Linked DNA regions of Homo sapiens: all the other regions are linked to region 2. The links are contacts of gene promoters, found by promoter capture Hi-C in human tissues and cell types (Jung and others, 2019). All regions are on one chromosome and are shown on one strand. Each heading gives the region's core, a stretch centred on a gene start or on the middle of the fragment in contact. The rest is flanking DNA. Distances are from core to core; before and after follow the strand shown.

Region 1 (2,741 bases), core at 77-2,576, 160 kb before region 2:
GCACAGGAGTGGCTGTAGAGGAAGGAGAAGCTGGCTGTCAGTAGCCTTATGTGTTCCCAGCTGGGAAATACTGGCTCCTTAAGCCTTTAAGCCAATTGAATTATATTTTTGGCAAACAGCGGCATGATTTACATGCCCAGGCTATAAATTTCCTTAGATGTTTATATGGAAATTTGATTTTGAAAGAATAAAGAAATATTCAAACCAGAACACTACTGGAATAAGAATACAATCTGTCTGAGTTTTACCATTTGTTAGCAAGTGTATGAGTCTTAGTCCTTCTTAGAGACCCCTTAGTCTAATGCTTATGTTCACATACAGCGTTGAAAGACTATTTCTTGTGCCTGATTTTCTTTGGATGTAGGTGTACCTCCATTTTTAAATACCCCAAGTGCCTTTTCCTTAATAGCAGTTAATAGAAGGGAAAAGATTTATAATGCTATCAGTGTCTGTTTAAGAGTTGTTCTTCACACATATCTAAATGAGCTATTGTCTTAGTTCTTTATGCATAGACTATAGTTTTCCTATGTATAGCATTAATCAGTTTGTTCAGTGAAGTTGGCTTGCAGCTTGTTACCTGGCTGCCATTTAAGAGGCATGAATTAAACTGCTATAGTTTGTCATTATCACCCACTAAATATAGGAATTTGGCTGGATTCAAACCCTTAGTATTATAGATTAGTATCTAATGAAATGTTCTTGTACACATGCTACTAAATATATAATTTTCTGAAGTTTTTTTTTTAAAGTGTTCTTTCTTAGATTTAATAAACTTTCTTGGTGTAAAGCAGTCTATAGCATGGCTACTGCTGATGCTTAAAATAGACAAATTAATCCCCTGTGTCTGACTGTATTTGTTTACAGAGGAATTATTTAAGATTCTCACTCAGGGATGTGATCCTGTTGAACAGCACCTGCAAATTCACACAATCTAGGTTTTATGGGAGTTACTCTAGGAGCTTTGGGGAGAGAAGAGAGAAAGGCATGGCAGTGTGTGTCGGGGTGAGTACTTCCTATTCAGGCCTGGAGTGCTGCAGGGTGATGAAGACAACTAGAGGTGGAAGGATTTGAGGGCAAGGCAAGTTTGCACATTATATTCCCAAGGCTGCTTTGAGGTTGTGGAGTTGCAATACTGTTTCTGAAATCTGAACACTCAGTGTCAATAGGACATGGACTTGATTTGTCTGCTTATCCCGCCTGGTGTACATCCCTTCCTCAGAAAGGCCTTCCCCCGTGCCTTGCAGACCTTGCTTGTTTGATTTTTATCTTCCCTGCTAGAAGGTTAGCCCACTGAAAGCCTAGACCAGGTCATCAACACTGTCTTCCCAGCGCCTGGCCAAAGCCTGGCTCACACTAGGTGCTCAGATATGCAGTGACGGGAGTAGCTCAATTCCTATGTATTCGTCTAGAATAAATCTGCTGTCAGCATGCTCTGGGCAATCTGTTTCTTTCTTGGTATGCCTTACCTTGGTTAGACATACCACCCGGCATCCTATCCTTCATTTCAGTGGTTTAAAAAATATATGCCCGTTGTCTCTTATTGGGAAGCTGAGCAGAAAGAAAACAGTGTCTGTTTTCAGAACCGGTCCTGGCAGCAACACTCACTGATGCCTGTCCCTGCCCATGGGTGGAGCAGTGGGGTGACTTTGCTGCTGGCTGCCCATTGGCCTATCCTCCACCCTCTGCTCTCCTGAGAAGTCAAGTGTGGATTTTGTCTGCTAGTTACCTTTAGCCCAGTGGGCAGCAGCGTGGGGCTCGGCATGTGACTTGTGCCCTGAGAGACCTTGGTAGGCTGGGGGAGCGCAGCTGAGCCCTGCTAACCCCCGCCCACTTCCAGGCTCATTGCCCTCTTCTGTGTCTGCAGTGGGGTGTCACCTAGTAGTCAGCTGTTGGTGGCACAGATGGTGAGTGGTTTTGTTAAGTGCTGGTGCCTTCTTTCCAGAACCATGGCCTGAAGAAATCTGCTTATCTGTTCTTTCTTTGCTGTCATGGTAAACCTTGAAATTTCGTGTGTGTGTTTGTGTGTGTGTGTGTGAGTGAGTACACTTACATGGATTCATTGTAGCAGAGATTGAATGAGCAGAGCAAATACATTATGTTGGTTCTGGTAGTATTAATGGCCTGTAAAACAGAGACCATTAAATTTAAAATTAATTTCATTTAAATTTAAATTTTAGCAGAAAATTTCTGTATTTTAACAAAGAAAAAGAGATGCAAATCAAAACCACAATGCATTTCTCTGATGACCAGTGATGATGAGCATTTTTTCACGTGTCTGTTGGTGGCATAAATGTCTTCTTTTGAGAAGTGTCTGTTCATATCCTTTGCCCACTTGTTTGTTGTTTTTCTTGTAAATTTTTGTTTTTTTTCTTGTAAATTTGTTTGGGTTCTTTGTAGATTCTGGATATTAGCCCTTTGTCAGATGGACAGATTGCAAAAATTTTCTCCCATTCTGTAGGTTGCCTGTTCACTCTGATGGTAGTTTCTTTTGCTGTGCAGAAGCTTCTTAATTTTGTCTGAACACTCCTTGTAGGCAGTGTTTTTACCTGCGTGCTTTACTTGTTCTGCACTCAGGATGAATCACAGAGCGTTGGTAGAGGAAATAATCATAAAATCTAATATTTTTGAGCACTTTCTAACGTGTGTGAGATCATTCTTACCTCTTTATGTGAGTCATTTAGCAGTCAGAAAAGCCCTGCGAGATAAGGTGCTATTTCCGTCTCCATTTACAGATGAGGAAA
Region 2 (2,873 bases), core at 69-2,568:
CTGACTTCTGAATGTCAAGAACTTTTTGAAATCTGATGCAGAATGTCGTGCTCACATGTGTTGGTGAATTCTTCTGCGAAAATGATTCACAGTTTGCTTCAGGGTCTGAAATGAGTTCACGACCCAAAATAGGAAGGGGATCGGTAGGGCAGTGTATATAGCACACCATTGACGTAACCATTAATAACTCCATCTTAGGAGAAGACCCCATTTTTACATTTCATAAGGCATTTGCCAACAAGCATACTATACTTTAATAAACAAATAAAAAAATAGTCCGCATCCAGCCAGGTAAGGACACAAACAAGCACTCTCTTCCATTACCAGTTCTCACCACAGGACTCTGTGACTATAAAAGATGGGGCCTTCGGCAGCTCCCAACAGCCGGCTTAATTGACGCCGTCTTTGCAGAAGGACCTCTCGGCCCAAACCAGGCTTCTTTTCCTCTTCTTCACTCCCTCTGGATTGGTTCGTTAATCTCTTTGCCCCATCTCTTTTTCCTCATGATGTTAAATGCTACTTTGTTGTGGGATGCTTAACTTGTAACATTTATATGTGGATTAAGTACACTACTATGATGCGTGAGCGGCTTGAGCCTGTGTGTCAGGCTCTGACTACCCAGTGACCAGCAAGTGCTGAGAACTGCCTCCTTGGGAACTCCACGCAGCTCGTGGCTTTTGTGATCGAAAGAGCGTCCACAGCAGCCTGACATGGTGGAAAACACAGCATGCGTGGACCTGGTTATTTCTAGCCTGGCACCCTGATGACAGGAGGTTAAGGCTTTTGATTTAGGGAGAGAGACCTGAGGGTAACCCAAAGAAAGGCCTCAGGTCATCGCAGAGGAGACAGAAATTACCGGTGGGCGTCCCGGCCTGCTCCTCTTCTTCCCAGAGCTCAAACTGGGCAGCAGGCCTGGCTTTGTCTCCCTTCTAGGTACCCGTTGGGCCTGGCGCGGTTTCCAAGTCTCCCTCAATTTCCCTCCAGAATCCCGCGCTGGGAGCGGAAGCCCGCGGACTCTCAGGAAGACCTAGATTTCAAATCCGGGGCGGGGGAGCCGGGCCGAGCCTCAGGGCGGGACCAAAGCGGGAGGACTGGCGCGGGACGCGAGGGCGGGACCAGGGCGTGAGGACGCGGGGCGCGGGGGCGGGGCGCGCTGCGGTGGGCGGGCGCCTCCTGGGGCCCAGCCTGGGGCTGGGTTCTCGGGCGGGCGGGAGCTAGGGGACGGGCCGCAGCGGAGGCGGCGCGAGGGGCCGACAGGGGCGGGCGGGAGGCGGGGCTGGCGCTGGAGCACATCTCCCGGCGGCGGGCCGCGGAAGCAGTGCAGACGCGGCTCCTAGCGGATGGGTGCTATTGTGAGGCGGTTGTAGAAGGTATGAGGAGGCTGTGCGGTGACTGCCGCCCTCGCTCCGGGCCGTCAGCCCTGCCCCCGCTCCCTGCGTTCTCCCAGGCCCTGCGCCCGCCCGGGTACCTGCCCGGTCTGGAAGGCGGAGTGTTTGTTTTGCCACCTCGCCCGGGCGGGGGCGAGCAGTGAAGCCCGCGGAGCGAGAGACTTGGCCCGGAGGCGGGAGCCTGGGCCGGGGCCGGGGAAGCCAGGCAGCGGGTTAAGGCTTTTGATTTAGGGAGAGGGACCTGGGGGTAACCTAAGGAAAGGCCTCAGGTCATCGGAGGGGAGACCTGGCCCGGGGGCGGGAGGCTGGGCTGGGACCGGGGAGGCCGGGCAGCGCGAGGCCGGGCCGGGGAGGCCAGGCAGCGGGAGGCCTGGCCAGGGGAACCGAGCCCGGGGCCGGGAGGTCGGGCACGGGGCACCGAGCTCCGAGGGCGGGAGACCTGGCGGCCGGCCGAGTGCCGGAAGGCCGGGTCAGGCGGCGGAAGGCAGCGGCAAGCTGGGAAACGGACGGCGCTACCGCCGGCGGAGGAGTGGCCCCGGGAAGCGGTGCTGCGAGGGCTGGGGCGGCCGGGTGCTGACTGTGAGATACTCGCCCTGGGGGCTGATCCTTCCAATTTTGGACGAGGCTTCCGTCTCTGCTGCCTTCCATGCCTGGGGCCTGGATTATCCCGGGTTGACAATGTGGTTTAGCTCTTCCAGAGAGATAGTTGCAGGGTTTAAACTCCAATTCCTTTTCGGCCCTGCAGAGTTTCGTGAGTGCTCGCAGCTCATACCTGTGGCTGTGTATCCGTGGCCACAGCTGGTTGGCGTCGCCTTGAAATCCCAGGCCGTGAGGAGTTAGCGAGCCCTGCTCACACTCGGCGCTCTGGTTTTCGGTGGGTGTGCCCTGCACCTGCCTCTTCCCCCATTCTCAGTAAGTGGCACCCAAGCAGGAAACCGGAAAACATCGTTCGCAGCCCCCTCTCGCCCACCCACTTCTTTTCCTGCTTAGTCGCCAAGCCTTGTCGACCTTGTAAATGTCTGCCAGATCTGTCCGCGTCTCTCTATCTCTGATTTCAGCCGTCTGACCACAGCAGCCTCTTCCCTGGTCTCTCCACTTCCAGACCCGCCTGCTCCTTTGCAGTCCACTTTTTACAGCACAGGCAGAGGGATCTTTATGAAATGAAAGTCTAGAAAGCTCGTCCTTTGCCCTTAGGTTAAACCCAGCACTTAATATGGCTAACAAACCCCTGCGTGTGTTGGGTCCTGAGTGCCCCCACCCCTCCTTATCTTTAGCACCGGTTCGATTTCTGCACGGCAATGCTGACCTTCATACCTAGTGTCTGCCTGCAACACCTCTGCACTCCCTTTCTCCCGCCATCACATTTGATTAGAAGAGCTGCTACTTAAATTTCTGTTTTCATTAAACAGTTTAAGGTTAAATCTTCCTATGCTGTGTTCTTTCTGCAGCCAGCATTCCCTAAGAGAGATGTGTCATATCCTTTGC
Region 3 (2,702 bases), core at 175-2,674, 200 kb before region 2:
AGGAAGCTATCTTTCCTCTTCCGACATTTGCTGACTGGTCGATGCTAGATGATCTTGAGACCCTGTGCTGAGGACTGGAGAACTACAGGAAAGGAGCAGTATCTCTGAATTATCGTGTGGAAGGTCACTTGTCTAGCCCCTGATGACTGTGAGGTAAGTCGTTAGGGATCTGGGGTTGTCTGATACAGCAGTTAGCAGGTCCTGACTGACATATCCCTCTTATTCTTTAAGTTGAACAAATTAGAGACTGGAGTGTTTTGGGTAGCCTTGCTATATGGCATGGTCGAAGACGGTGCTTCGCAGGTGATTTACAACCCTCCTACCATTTACTCTGTCTTCATTTCAAGCAGTATAACCTATAATTTCCTAATCTTCAGCAGAATAGGAAAAGGGGCTCAAAGCCACAAACACACACGCTTCCTTTCAATGTACCTTTGTTGCTCAGCCACAGTGGCGAGTTCACGCGCCTGGCAAGACCTCTCCCTATTTGGGCATTTTGTGAATACAGAAGAATGGGCGCCCTGGTGTGACCCAACATCAGAATCCAAAACATGGCATCTTTACCTAGCCCTTTTCGCTTCTTTTAGATCATTCAATAAACATAATCTGTTTTCTTTCAAAATAACATGGTTATCTAATTCCCTTCATTAGCAGCTAGCAAAAGAGGCCCTGGGCTTCCCGTGAGCTAATTCACTGGGTCCCTGAGGTCGTTGCGGGCTTTCCCTCTCACTCTTGCAACAGACACAATCTCACTTCTTTAATGTAAAGTATGGTTTTTCTGTCGAAATGTGCTTCCTGTTTTCTTTATCGTAACTTACAGGCATGATTGCCTGGGTCTTCTCTCATTATTCCCAGTCCACTGCCTCTTCATATTTAGTGGTACTTCTGTCTTACTGGTCCCTGGAAATTTATCTCAGATCATTTCCTTTTGGGTCTATCTCTTCTTTAAGAGAAATAATTTTAAAGTCAAAGCTCCATAATACAGAGATCTGTTCTCTTTCCCACCATCTGTTTTCTGAACCTCCCCTCCTGGTTCAAGCCTCTGTAGGATAATTTGAACACAAACCATTGACTGCCAACTGAAATCGAACAAGATAATGTCCAATTTGCCCTTTTTTCTCTCTGATTTGTCCCAATGTTTACATTTCTCCATCAATCAATGAACAAATCACTTTGGTACAGTGTGCCAGTAGCTTTGAGAGGAGCACAGAAGCAATACAAGCAAGCTCACCAGTAACTTATGAGGCTCGCTTACCCAAAGCCATTCAAGAATAAGACAGTAGATAACACCAGCCACCTGGTGTATATAGAAAGTGCATTCAGAGGGCCGGGCACGGTGGCTCACGCCTGTAATCCCAGCACTTTGGGAGGCCGAGGCGGGCAGATCACGAGGTCAGGAGATCGAGACCATCCTGGCTAACACGGTGAAACCCCGTCTCTACTAAAAATGCAAAAAATTAGCTGGGCGTGGTGGTGGGCGCCTGTAGTCCCAGCTACTCGGGAGGCTGAGGCAGGAGAATGGCATGAACCCGGGAGGCGGAGCTTGCAGTGAGCCGAGATCGCGCCACTGCACTCCAGGCTGGGCGACAGAGCGAGACTCTGTCTCAAAAAAAAAAAAAAGAAAAAAGAAAGTGCATTCAGAATTGGGGAGGGGAGAGATCAATGTGTGTTAGAGCCAAGGAAACATTTAGTAAAGATGGAATTTAGCCCTTAAGGACTGTCAGGCCAGAGCAATAGGAAGTACAAACATTTCATATGTAGAGAATAACACGAACAAGGCACAAGAGCAGAAATATGAGTAACAGCCTCAGTGGGTCCTATTCGTTATGCACCTATCATGTCCCTTGCACTATGCCGGGCCCTTTGCACTCATTATATACGATGCTCACAGCAATCCTGAGATTGTGAGGCGGGTATTTTACAAATACAAGAAGTCAGTTTTAGAGAAGTACTAAATGGCAGACTCAGGATTCATGTCTGCACTTCATTCACTGCGTAGGAAGGTGAGGGTGGTTAAGGAGGTGCCACTCTGGGAGCAGAAGGCAGTCACTGGAGCAGATCAGTGGAGCTACGTTACGGAGATCCGGGATGGTCCGTGAGGATGCTGGGCCTCACCTGGTAAGCAACAGGGACTGCTGTAGAAGCTTTAGCACAGAAATAGGATGACAAACTTTAGTCAGACAAAATCTGAGTTCAAGGCCGTGTTCTGTGTTAGCTGTGTGACTGGGAACCACCGTTAAACCTGCTGAGATTGTTTCCTCCTCTATAAAATGTGTTCAACAGCAATATCAATGTATAACATTGAAAGGCTTAAATGAGATTTTACTAAAGCACCTGAGATATAGTTAGCATTTACTATATGATAGAGGTTGTTGCTGTTACTACTGCTACTACCACCACCACTGCTACCACAACAGCACTTAAGGAAGGATGATAATCTGGAGAAAAACAGCTAACAGATATTTCGTGAAGACATGAAATGAGATGGCATAGATAGATAGATAGATAGATAGATAGATAGATAGAGTTATATGCCATTTGGTTATATATACATAATCAAAACTTGACTCTGGGAGTATAGATGAATAAAGGTGAATTAGAATCTAGTATAAAGAGAGAAGATCGGAGAATGAGGATTGACACATCTGGGGCACCCACAGTTGGGGAGCGGGACACGGGAGAGAGTCAGTGACAGACACAAG
Region 4 (2,700 bases), core at 160-2,659, 150 kb after region 2:
CTTTAATTGGGGGCATGAACAAGACTTTTTTTTTCCTTGCAAATTGATGTGAATGGTCTGCTGCTGTGGGCTTCATCTTCAGCATTGTCTCATCCCTTCTTGAAACAACTTTTTGGGGCTCCTGGAGGCAGCAGAGGCTGAGGCCTGGAGCCAGGCTGGGGCAGCCCTAGGAGGCGTCTTAGCCAAAGCAGGTGTCCTTCGGGGGCCACAGGCCGCCCACCTGCCTCAGGCCCTTGGCCACCCCTCCCCTCCCTGCGCCCAGTCCCCAGTCGTGCCAGAGAAGCTGTGCTACTGCCTGGTGGGAATTGGGGGAAGGGAAGTCGAGAAGAAGGTCCTGGGGTAGAGCTCGGGCCTGCTGCCCACACAGACTGCCGTGGCTGAGAGAGTAGGATCTGGCCGTCCCTGTGCCTGTCTTCTTGGAAGGAGCAGGGGCGCCTTGTAGCTGCACCTGTGAGGAGCAGGATTCTGCTGCAGGCACTCAGCCAGCAGCTGCAGGCTCTGTTGTTTTTACACCGGTGACAAATGACATGGCCAGACACACTGCAATGTCTGAAGAAACCTCTGTAGAAGAGCAGGATGCTGTGGACGCGCTGTGGCCCAGACAGAGGCTGCCAAGCAGATGGAACCTGCACTCGGCCAATTTGGCCAAAGAAGCCCCCATACTCTCCGTGAAAGAGTTCCACCAGAAGCTGTTGTGTCAGTAACAGTCTCAAAAAAAAAAAAAATCAAACAACAACAACAACAACAAAAACCCCACAAACCCACCAACACTAAAGATCAGTTTTGAGTCTGATTTGAAAGCTAGGATCCAATTCTGCAGAGGCATTGACATGGCGAGACACCATCCTAATAGCCAGATCTGCAGGTTCCTCCATCATGCCAGTGAGAATGCTCCATTCACCATTCCTCAGCTTCTTGTTCTGGTTTCAGAGTTCTGTCTGTATTGGAGGAGTGTTAAAGCTAGAGGGGTCTTTACCCACTTCCTCTTATGCCCAGATCTGAATATGGAGGTCAAGAGGGGAAAGTGACATGTCCTAAGTCTGAGTAGAGTGAACACCCTGCAGAGAGGCCTGGCCTGCTCGCTCGTCAGACTCTGGGACTTGTGCTGTGAGTTCTTTACCCCTTTATAGGTTCTATACCTACTTCATTTTGTGTATTTACAAAGATAAAAGCATTTAATCATTAGTTATTAATGTTAAGTACACAGCAAAAGCATAAATATGACCTTTATTCTTGGCTTCAAACCTGATCTAACTTGCTGAATTTCTTATGGGGTCATAGATTCAGGGAGATTCAGGGTGAATGACTGATTGTATTTGTTTTCTAGGGCTGCTGTAAAAGATTACCACAATTTGGTGGTTAAAAAAAACAAACAAACAGGAATTTATTCTCTTACTGTTCTGGAGACCAGAAATCTGAAATCAGGGTGCCAGTAAAAGGCCCTAATCCTTGCAAAGGTTCTAGGGAGGATCCTTTCTTGCCTCGTCCAGCTTCTGGTGGCTCTTGCAGTTCCTTGGCTTGTGGCTGCATCACTCCAATCCCTGCCTCCATCTTTACATGGACTTCTCCTCTGGGTATGCGTCTTCTCTTCTATCTCATAATGTCCTTAGATTTAGGGCCCCCACCCATGTAATCCAGGATGATCTTCTCATCTTAACATCCTTAATTGAATTATATCTGCAAAGACTCTTTTTTTTCCATAGAAGATTGCATTCACAGGTTTTGGGTGTTAGGACATGGACATATATTTTGGGGGGGTCACCATTCAACCTGTTGCAACTATGGACTCTGTCTTGGACAAAAGGTTACTTTAGGAAATCAGTGGCATAATTTGTCTACGTATAAGATGCAAGTTGATGCATTGCCCTGGAATCATTTCCTAATTGCTTCCAGTATGCAAATCTTACCTCTTTGATTAAGTTCTAAGTTGTATGTTCAGGGCTTTTAAAATTAAATTCCTGGATCTAATTATGAACTAGTGTCATCCCATTGTCTTGGCTTGCAAGATTCCGATAAGTTTGCTGTTAACTTTATTTTTGTTCCTTGTATATAATATGTTATTTTCTTCTCTGGCTGCTTTAAAAATTTTTCTCTTTATCATGAGTTTTCAGAAATTTGATTATGATATGCCTTATTGTGTTTTTTATTTGTTTGATTACCTTGCTTATGGTGTGTTGAGTTTCTTGGATCTGTGATCTTAATTACTTTCATCAGACTTGGAAAAATTTTGTTCATTATTTCTTCAAATATTTTTCTCTGGCCTCTGTTTCTCATTCTGAGACTTCAGTTATATATATTTTTCAGACAGCTTTGCATTGTCCCGAGAGTCACTCAGTCTCTGTGCATTTTTTCTTTCAGTCTTTTAAAAAAAAGTTCTGTGCTTTATTTTGGACACATTCGATTACTATGAGTTTCTGTCCCTGTGTCTTTTCTGTCTAATTTTCTGCTAATCCTATCCAGTGAATCGTGAAGAATAAAGTTTTATTTTAGAATAGTCATAGATTTATAGAAAAATTGTGAAGATATACTCTGTATATCTGCTTTGCTATAAAGAAATGCCAGAGACTGGGTAATTTATAAAGAAGAGAGGTTTAACTGGCTTACGGTTCTGTAAGCTGTACAAGAAGCATGAATCTGGCATCTGTTTGTCTTCTAGGGAGGTCTCAGGAAACTTTCAGTCATGGTGGAAGGCAATGAGGA
Region 5 (2,770 bases), core at 221-2,720, 140 kb before region 2:
AGTCATCCCCTTCTAAAGGGTCTCCCTGTGAGTTCATCCCCTGGCACCCATCCACTTCCTCCTCAGCGCGGCCCTCCTCAGCCTGCCGCCCTACTCTGAGACCTAGCTTTTCCACACTTCTTTTTGGTGTCTCCTGTTTTGTTTCATCACACCTTAAGCCAGAAACGATCTCTTCCACTTTTGGACAGCTCTCTCCTCTTGGTACCAGAGGTTATCATATCACAGTCTAATTTCTCCAAGGGTTTCCAGACTGTTGTAAAAGTGAAGGCCCCTCTCTGAAATTAAAAAAAAAAAAAAAGGTAGGCTCTAACGTCATAGTCACTGAGCTTTTATTTATCAGTCTCTAAAGACTGCTTTTTGGCTTTCTGTGGATGTCTGGATGCCTTACAGTGTCCTTTGGCCCCAGAGGACTCAGCAGCTCACATTGGAGACCTGCTACCTGTAAAGACTACTGCTGCTACTGTGGGAGGCTAGGCCCTGCCGCCTTATCCATCATTAGGAGTTCTTGCACATAGCAAATATACTCAGGAAGCTAACAGATGAAGACGACTTAGAGAAAGGTGCACAGCGATGTCAAATCTGCACACCTATAAATGTTGCACCTAAAACTAATAAAGACCTGTGTCTGCACATGCATATGTTTTGTAGCTGATGATTTTAACTGTTAGAGATGCTATGCAAGAAAGTGAAGTTTCTAACAGATGATATTGCGCTTGGTGAGGAGATAAAATAGTGGAAATAGTCTCAAAAAGAATATAGGTAACATTTTAGAAGTATAACCAAATGGGGTTTCATTTCCACCAGAGCTGAACAGGATCAGTCCTCTGTGCTGTGGATGGCAGTGGCTTGAGAACTGTCAATGTGTGTAGTGGTGGCAGTTTGTGGCTCTTCTCTTGCTCTCTTTGGCCTTATCCGGCAGGACCAGCACTTGTAGGTCTGTAAACCTGTTTTCTCTCTTCAGGCATCTTTCTGACTTAGCCGTGGTTCCCCGAAGCCTGTGTTTACCTCCAGGCGAATGATTGGTTTACATCAGCACATCTTGCACTGCAGTCTTTCAGCACTCACTCACTGGGCAGCTGTTCCGCAGGTGGCCGCCTAGAGGGGTGCGGATACCACAGGGGCATATTAGACTTTATATTTAATTTTTAAGCATTTTATTTTTTAATGGACAAATACAAATTATGTGTATTTATGGTGTATAATAGGAACGAGTTCAGGACATCTATTTTTAATAAAAATGGTGACCATGTTCACTATTAGTTGGTGACTGTAGTTAATAACAATGTACCATATACCTGAAATTACTAAGAGAATAGATTTTAAGTGTTCTCACTACAGATAAGTGACAAGAATGTAAAGGAATGGATATGTTAATTAGCTTGATTTAGCCATTCCACAGTGCATAGATGTTTCACTGCCTTCTAACCTGCCCCCCTTTCTTTTTTGATAGGGTAGTGGTGGTGCACGAAGATCCGCACTACTTGACAGCGACGAGCCCTTGGTGTATTTCTATGATGATGTCACAACATTATACGAAGGTTTCCAGAGGGGAATACAGGTGTCAAGTAAGCATTTTCCTGCATTTGCGTGGCTCCCGCTCGCCGTGTTTCATGAAGAACGAGTGGCCTTTCAGAAATGCACATTTGCTCCTATCTTTCGCCTCCTTAGGATCGCTCAGGCCCCTCTGTGTCCACTGTAACTTTCCCAGAGTCGGTCCCAAAGCTCACTGGACCCTCTAGATGTTCCCTGTGGCCCTGGGGGCTCCATGGTCAAATATGTGAGTGTCACATCCTGTATTTTATGGTGAGTCACATGTTACACCAGTGCACAATAGGCTCTGACGTTTCCTGCAATAAAGAGGTCTGTTGAACTGGGCCCAATCCGGCATTTTTCATGCTTACTTGACCATGAGACCCATATTTTGAGAAAGAAATACTGACATCCCAGGATGGCAGTGTTCTGTTAAAGATACTTGGGAAATGTTGGCTCATGGGATTACCCTTAATTATTAACTGTAGTGTAAGAAACCCTGTGATATCCAGCATACCTCCTTTCCAGCCTCTGTCCCTCCCAGGCCTCCTGTATAGGGCCCTCAGGTCATACTGAACTTCCTGCAGAGCCACGACTACCTCTGCTCTCTCCCAGCCCTGAGGCTTTGTGCAGTTCTATTTTGCTTTTTAGAAATGGGGTCTTGCTATGTTGCCCAGGCTGGACTCAAACTTCTGACCTCAAGTGAGTCTCCTGCCTCAGCCTCCCAAAGCACTGGGACTACAGGTGTGAGCCACCATGCCCAGACTTGTGCACTTTTTTTTTTCTTTGGACGGAGTTTTGCTCTTGTTGCCCAGGCTGGAGTGCAATGGCATGATCTTGGCTCACCGCAGCCTACACCTCCTGGGTTCAAGTGATTCTCCTGCCTCAGCCTCCTGAGTAGCTGGGATTACAGGCATGCACCACCACGCCCAGCTAATTTTGTATTTTTTAATAGAGATGGGGTTTCTCCATGTTGGTCAGGCTGGTCTCAAACTCCTAATCTCAGGTGATCCACCCACCTCGGCCTCCCAAAGTGCTGGAATTACAGGCGCGAGTCACCATGCCCGGCCATGCACTTTTTTTTCTTGATCATAAAGCCTCTTTCTACCCCCAGCCTGGGTGCTTGATGTATTCTTTAATCTTACAAAACTCACTGCATTTCACCTTTTCTCTAAAACCTTCCTAGTCTATCATTTTCATCCCCTACCTCTGAGTGAAGCATTTCTTCCCTTTTCCCTCC
Region 6 (3,009 bases), core at 510-3,009, 130 kb after region 2:
TGATAGAAAAGTTCTATATCTTGATCATCATGGTAGTTACACAACCATATGCATTTGTCAAAACTTGTCAAACTATACTTAAAAGGAGTGAATTTTACTTTTGTATATTATACCCATATAAACTCGACTTTAAAAAACATAACAAACGGGCCGGGCGAGGTGGCTCATGCCTGTAATCCCAGCATTTTGGGAGGCTGAGGTGGGCGGATCGTGACATCAGGAGATGGAGACTATCCTGGCCAATATAGTGAAACCCCATCTCTACTAAAATACAAAATAGTAGCTGGGCATAGTGGCACATGCCTGTAGTCCCAGCTACTCGGGAGACTGAGGCAGGGGAATCCCTTGAACCTGGGAGGCGGAGGTTACAGTGAGCCGAGATTGTGCCGCTGCACTCCAGCCTGGTGACAGAGTGAGACTCTGGCTCAAAACAAAAACAGAAACAAAAACAAAACATTATAAATGTAGAAAAGCCGCTAAAAAAAGTGAAGGCAGTGGGCAGAGGAACCAGTAAGGAGACTGAAGAAAGAATGAGGTTTACATTAGGGCAGAGATTGCTGAATTAGAGACACAGAGCTTCAAAATCCTCCTCTTTAAATTCAGAAGGACTTGAGCTTGATTTTTATTTATTATTTATTTTTTATTATTTATTTATTTATTTTGAGATGGAGTTTCCCTCTTGTTGCCCAGGCTGGAGTGTAGTGGTGCAATCTCGGCTCACTGCAACCTCCGCCTCCCTGGTTCAAGTGATTCTTCTGCCTCAACCTCCCTAGTAGCTGGGATTATAGGCATGCACCAGCACGCCTGGCTAATTTTTGTATTTTTAGTAGAGATGGGGTTTCACTATGTCGGTCAGGCTGGTCTTGGACTCCTGACCTCACGTGATCTACCCATCTCAGCTTCCCAAAGTGCTGAGATTACAGGCATGAGCCACCGTGCCCAGCCAAGCTTGATTTTTAGCTTTGCCATATACTGATTGTGTGATCTTAGGGAAGTTATTTAACCCCTGCAGCCATGTTTATTTATCCGTAAAATGCACATGATAACAATAGTGCCCATCTGTGGTGCGCCTACTACAGTGTCTACAGAAGAGGCTATTATATTGTTGGAGTTGTGTCTATGGGGTAAAAGTGATAGGATGTGGTGATTGATTGGATCTTGAGTGTAAGGGAGTAGAAGGGGGCAAGGGTGATTCACAGGTCCTGACTTGGGTGATTGAGTGCCACCAACTGACATACAAATTTGGAGGAAAGACAATGAGTTCATGTATAAACATGCTGAGATGAAAGAGCTGCTCTGAGGGACATCTCGGTGAACCTTCCACAGAGAGTTGCATAGAGATGTCCAGAGCTGAGTTTAAAGTGAAAGGCCCATTTTGATTGAACTTTTAAAGCAAACACATTTTAAAAATCACAATATAGAAATTTAGTTGTATTTTTAATTCAGGCTCGTGTTGAATATGTCTCTCGGGGGTTCCCAATGATAGTCCAATGGTTAATTTTATTGGGCTGATATCCATGCCAATTATTAGTGACTGGAATGTGGTAGGCGCTGAACAAATATTTGCTGAATAACTCTGTTGAATATTTCCTATTTTCAAAGTTTTGGAAACTTCTGGATTCCCTGGACTCTGGCTGGGAATTCAAGACAATATCTTATTGACAATATCTTAGGTGGGCTTAAGATGCAAACTCTGTGAAATGGCTGCATGACTGGAGACCACTTTAAATTCATGCTGTCTGATGGGAGGATGGGAGGAGTTGGTGCTACTTGCTACTTGATTCAGTGACTTTGCACCAGGCTGCTGGTTCCTCTTGTCCATTCTTCAGAAAGTTTCCCCGAAATCCAGCTGCAATCCTCCTTCTGCAGTCATTCCATTTTTATATCACACGAGTAGTTGGAACCATGCAGGAAAGCTCTAAACCGTCTCTGAAAATTGGTTTCTTGAGTTTCTTTTGTGACTTTGCAACAGGGCCTGGAAGTGTCACAGGGAGAATAAGCTTGAGCTTCTCTGCTTCATGGCAGGAAGCCATTTCAGCTCATTGTTACCAGCTCAATCCGGCCTGGGCACCAAAGTATTGTGTTCCTAATCATGCAGAAGCCTGTGCATTCAATTAAAATGTTGTGTGGCTTTCTGAAAACCACCAGTTAGGATGACTGCATTCCCTTAACTCAATTGGGCCTGATGGCACATGTCCTAATACTTGCTGTTGTCTCTTATTAGCAGTTATTCCTCATCACCCAGCATCCAAGAAAACAGTTCTTACTCTGGCCATTATTTCTTCTGTGGACCCTTAATTCTCACTGTGTGTTTTCACAGCGTCCTGTGCACAGAGCATGTTGGGTTTGAATGTCATGGTTATTGAGCAAATTTGAAAATAAGTGGGTTTGTAGGAGTCAGAGCGAGAGGAGTAGCTGGTCTGGTGACAGGAGTGGGAAGTTAACGGACTGCAGGAGGGATGAGTCACAGCTGCTCTGAGCTTCAGAAACAGCTCAGCCTGGCCAGCTGCGGGAACTTGCTTCGCCATTTCAGCAAGCGAATCTGTCCATCCTCCTTCTAGTGGGGTGGTACAGGAATGAGTTGGGAAGTCCTGAATAGGAAATTCCACATTTAGAAAATGTACCTTAACATCTCAGTTCCACTCAGGGACAATCTTTGAGGACTAGTCATTAGGCTGAGCTCACAGGGGGGACCTGGGGGAGGAGCTGCCAGGATGGTGTAGGCATATGCATACACAGAATCTCACCCTTTTTTGGGAGAGTTGCACAGAAGGATCTGCTGATATTGCATATTCAAAACTAGGACATTCCTGATGCTTCGTCATTTTCTCAATTCAAACAAGCAAAAGTTCACATGTACACGCTTGCACCACCCCCTTAAATGTGTTAGGAGGAAAGAGTTCATAATAAAAAGAAGCTAAAAAAAGAGGCATAAGCAATGTGGTTGGGTTTCATCCGTACCACCCTAAGATGAGTGATGTCACTGGAAAGAAGCTCAGAGATGTCAGA

What was found. The method cuts DNA at HindIII sites, captures the fragments that hold promoters and counts their contacts. A contact is called where the count stands out against the background at its distance.
Region 1: a contact is called between a fragment that was not itself captured here and the fragment with the promoter of CASP3 in region 2, in 3 of the 25 tissues and cell types used here (IMR-90 fibroblasts, hippocampus and spleen).
Region 3: a fragment that was not itself captured here is called in contact with the fragment with the promoter of CASP3 in region 2 in 2 of the 25 tissues and cell types used here (lymphoblastoid cells and small bowel).
Region 4: a fragment that was not itself captured here is called in contact with the fragment with the promoter of CASP3 in region 2 in 1 of the 25 tissues and cell types used here (lymphoblastoid cells).
Region 5: a contact is called between a fragment that was not itself captured here and the fragment with the promoter of CASP3 in region 2, in 1 of the 25 tissues and cell types used here (liver).
Region 6: a contact is called between a fragment that was not itself captured here and the fragment with the promoter of CASP3 in region 2, in 6 of the 25 tissues and cell types used here (IMR-90 fibroblasts, bladder, dorsolateral prefrontal cortex and 3 more).

Annotation. Positions count from the first base shown.
Region 1 is chr4:184,804,690-184,807,430 of GRCh38, reverse strand. All of the region lies in intron 1 of ACSL1 (acyl-CoA synthetase long chain family member 1), which reads left to right. Among named protein-coding and RNA genes, the nearest start is that of ACSL1, 20 kb to the left of the region's middle. The HindIII fragment of the contact is 5,427 bases long and covers 1-2,741 here.
Region 2 is chr4:184,647,892-184,650,764 of GRCh38, reverse strand. CASP3 (caspase 3) reads left to right here and starts at 1,318. Exons shown (of 8, transcript NM_004346.4): 1 at 1,318-1,370; 2 at 2,134-2,300. PRIMPOL (primase and DNA directed polymerase) reads right to left here and starts at 1,027. Exons shown (of 14, transcript NM_152683.4): 1 at 857-1,027. RefSeq lists silencers at 1,011-1,590, 1,601-1,810. The HindIII fragment of the contact is 11,001 bases long and covers 1-2,873 here.
Region 3 is chr4:184,852,920-184,855,621 of GRCh38, reverse strand. It overlaps MIR3945HG (MIR3945 host gene), which reads left to right. Exons shown (of 3, transcript NR_132989.1): 1 at 1-153. Among named protein-coding and RNA genes, the nearest start is that of MIR3945HG, 1.4 kb to the left of the region's middle. The HindIII fragment of the contact is 4,150 bases long and covers 1-2,702 here.
Region 4 is chr4:184,496,341-184,499,040 of GRCh38, reverse strand. No RefSeq gene overlaps it. Among named protein-coding and RNA genes, the nearest start is that of IRF2-DT, 23 kb to the right of the region's middle. The HindIII fragment of the contact is 5,525 bases long and covers 1-2,700 here.
Region 5 is chr4:184,787,412-184,790,181 of GRCh38, reverse strand. ACSL1 (acyl-CoA synthetase long chain family member 1) reads left to right here. Exons shown (of 21, transcript NM_001995.5): 3 at 1,451-1,565. Among named protein-coding and RNA genes, the nearest start is that of ACSL1, 37 kb to the left of the region's middle. The HindIII fragment of the contact is 5,273 bases long and covers 1-2,770 here.
Region 6 is chr4:184,513,949-184,516,957 of GRCh38, reverse strand. The region is part of intron 1 of LINC02427 (long intergenic non-protein coding RNA 2427); the gene reads left to right. Among named protein-coding and RNA genes, the nearest start is that of LINC02427, 22 kb to the left of the region's middle. RefSeq lists enhancers at 2,281-2,440, 2,451-2,520, 2,571-2,660. The HindIII fragment of the contact is 4,259 bases long and covers 1-3,009 here.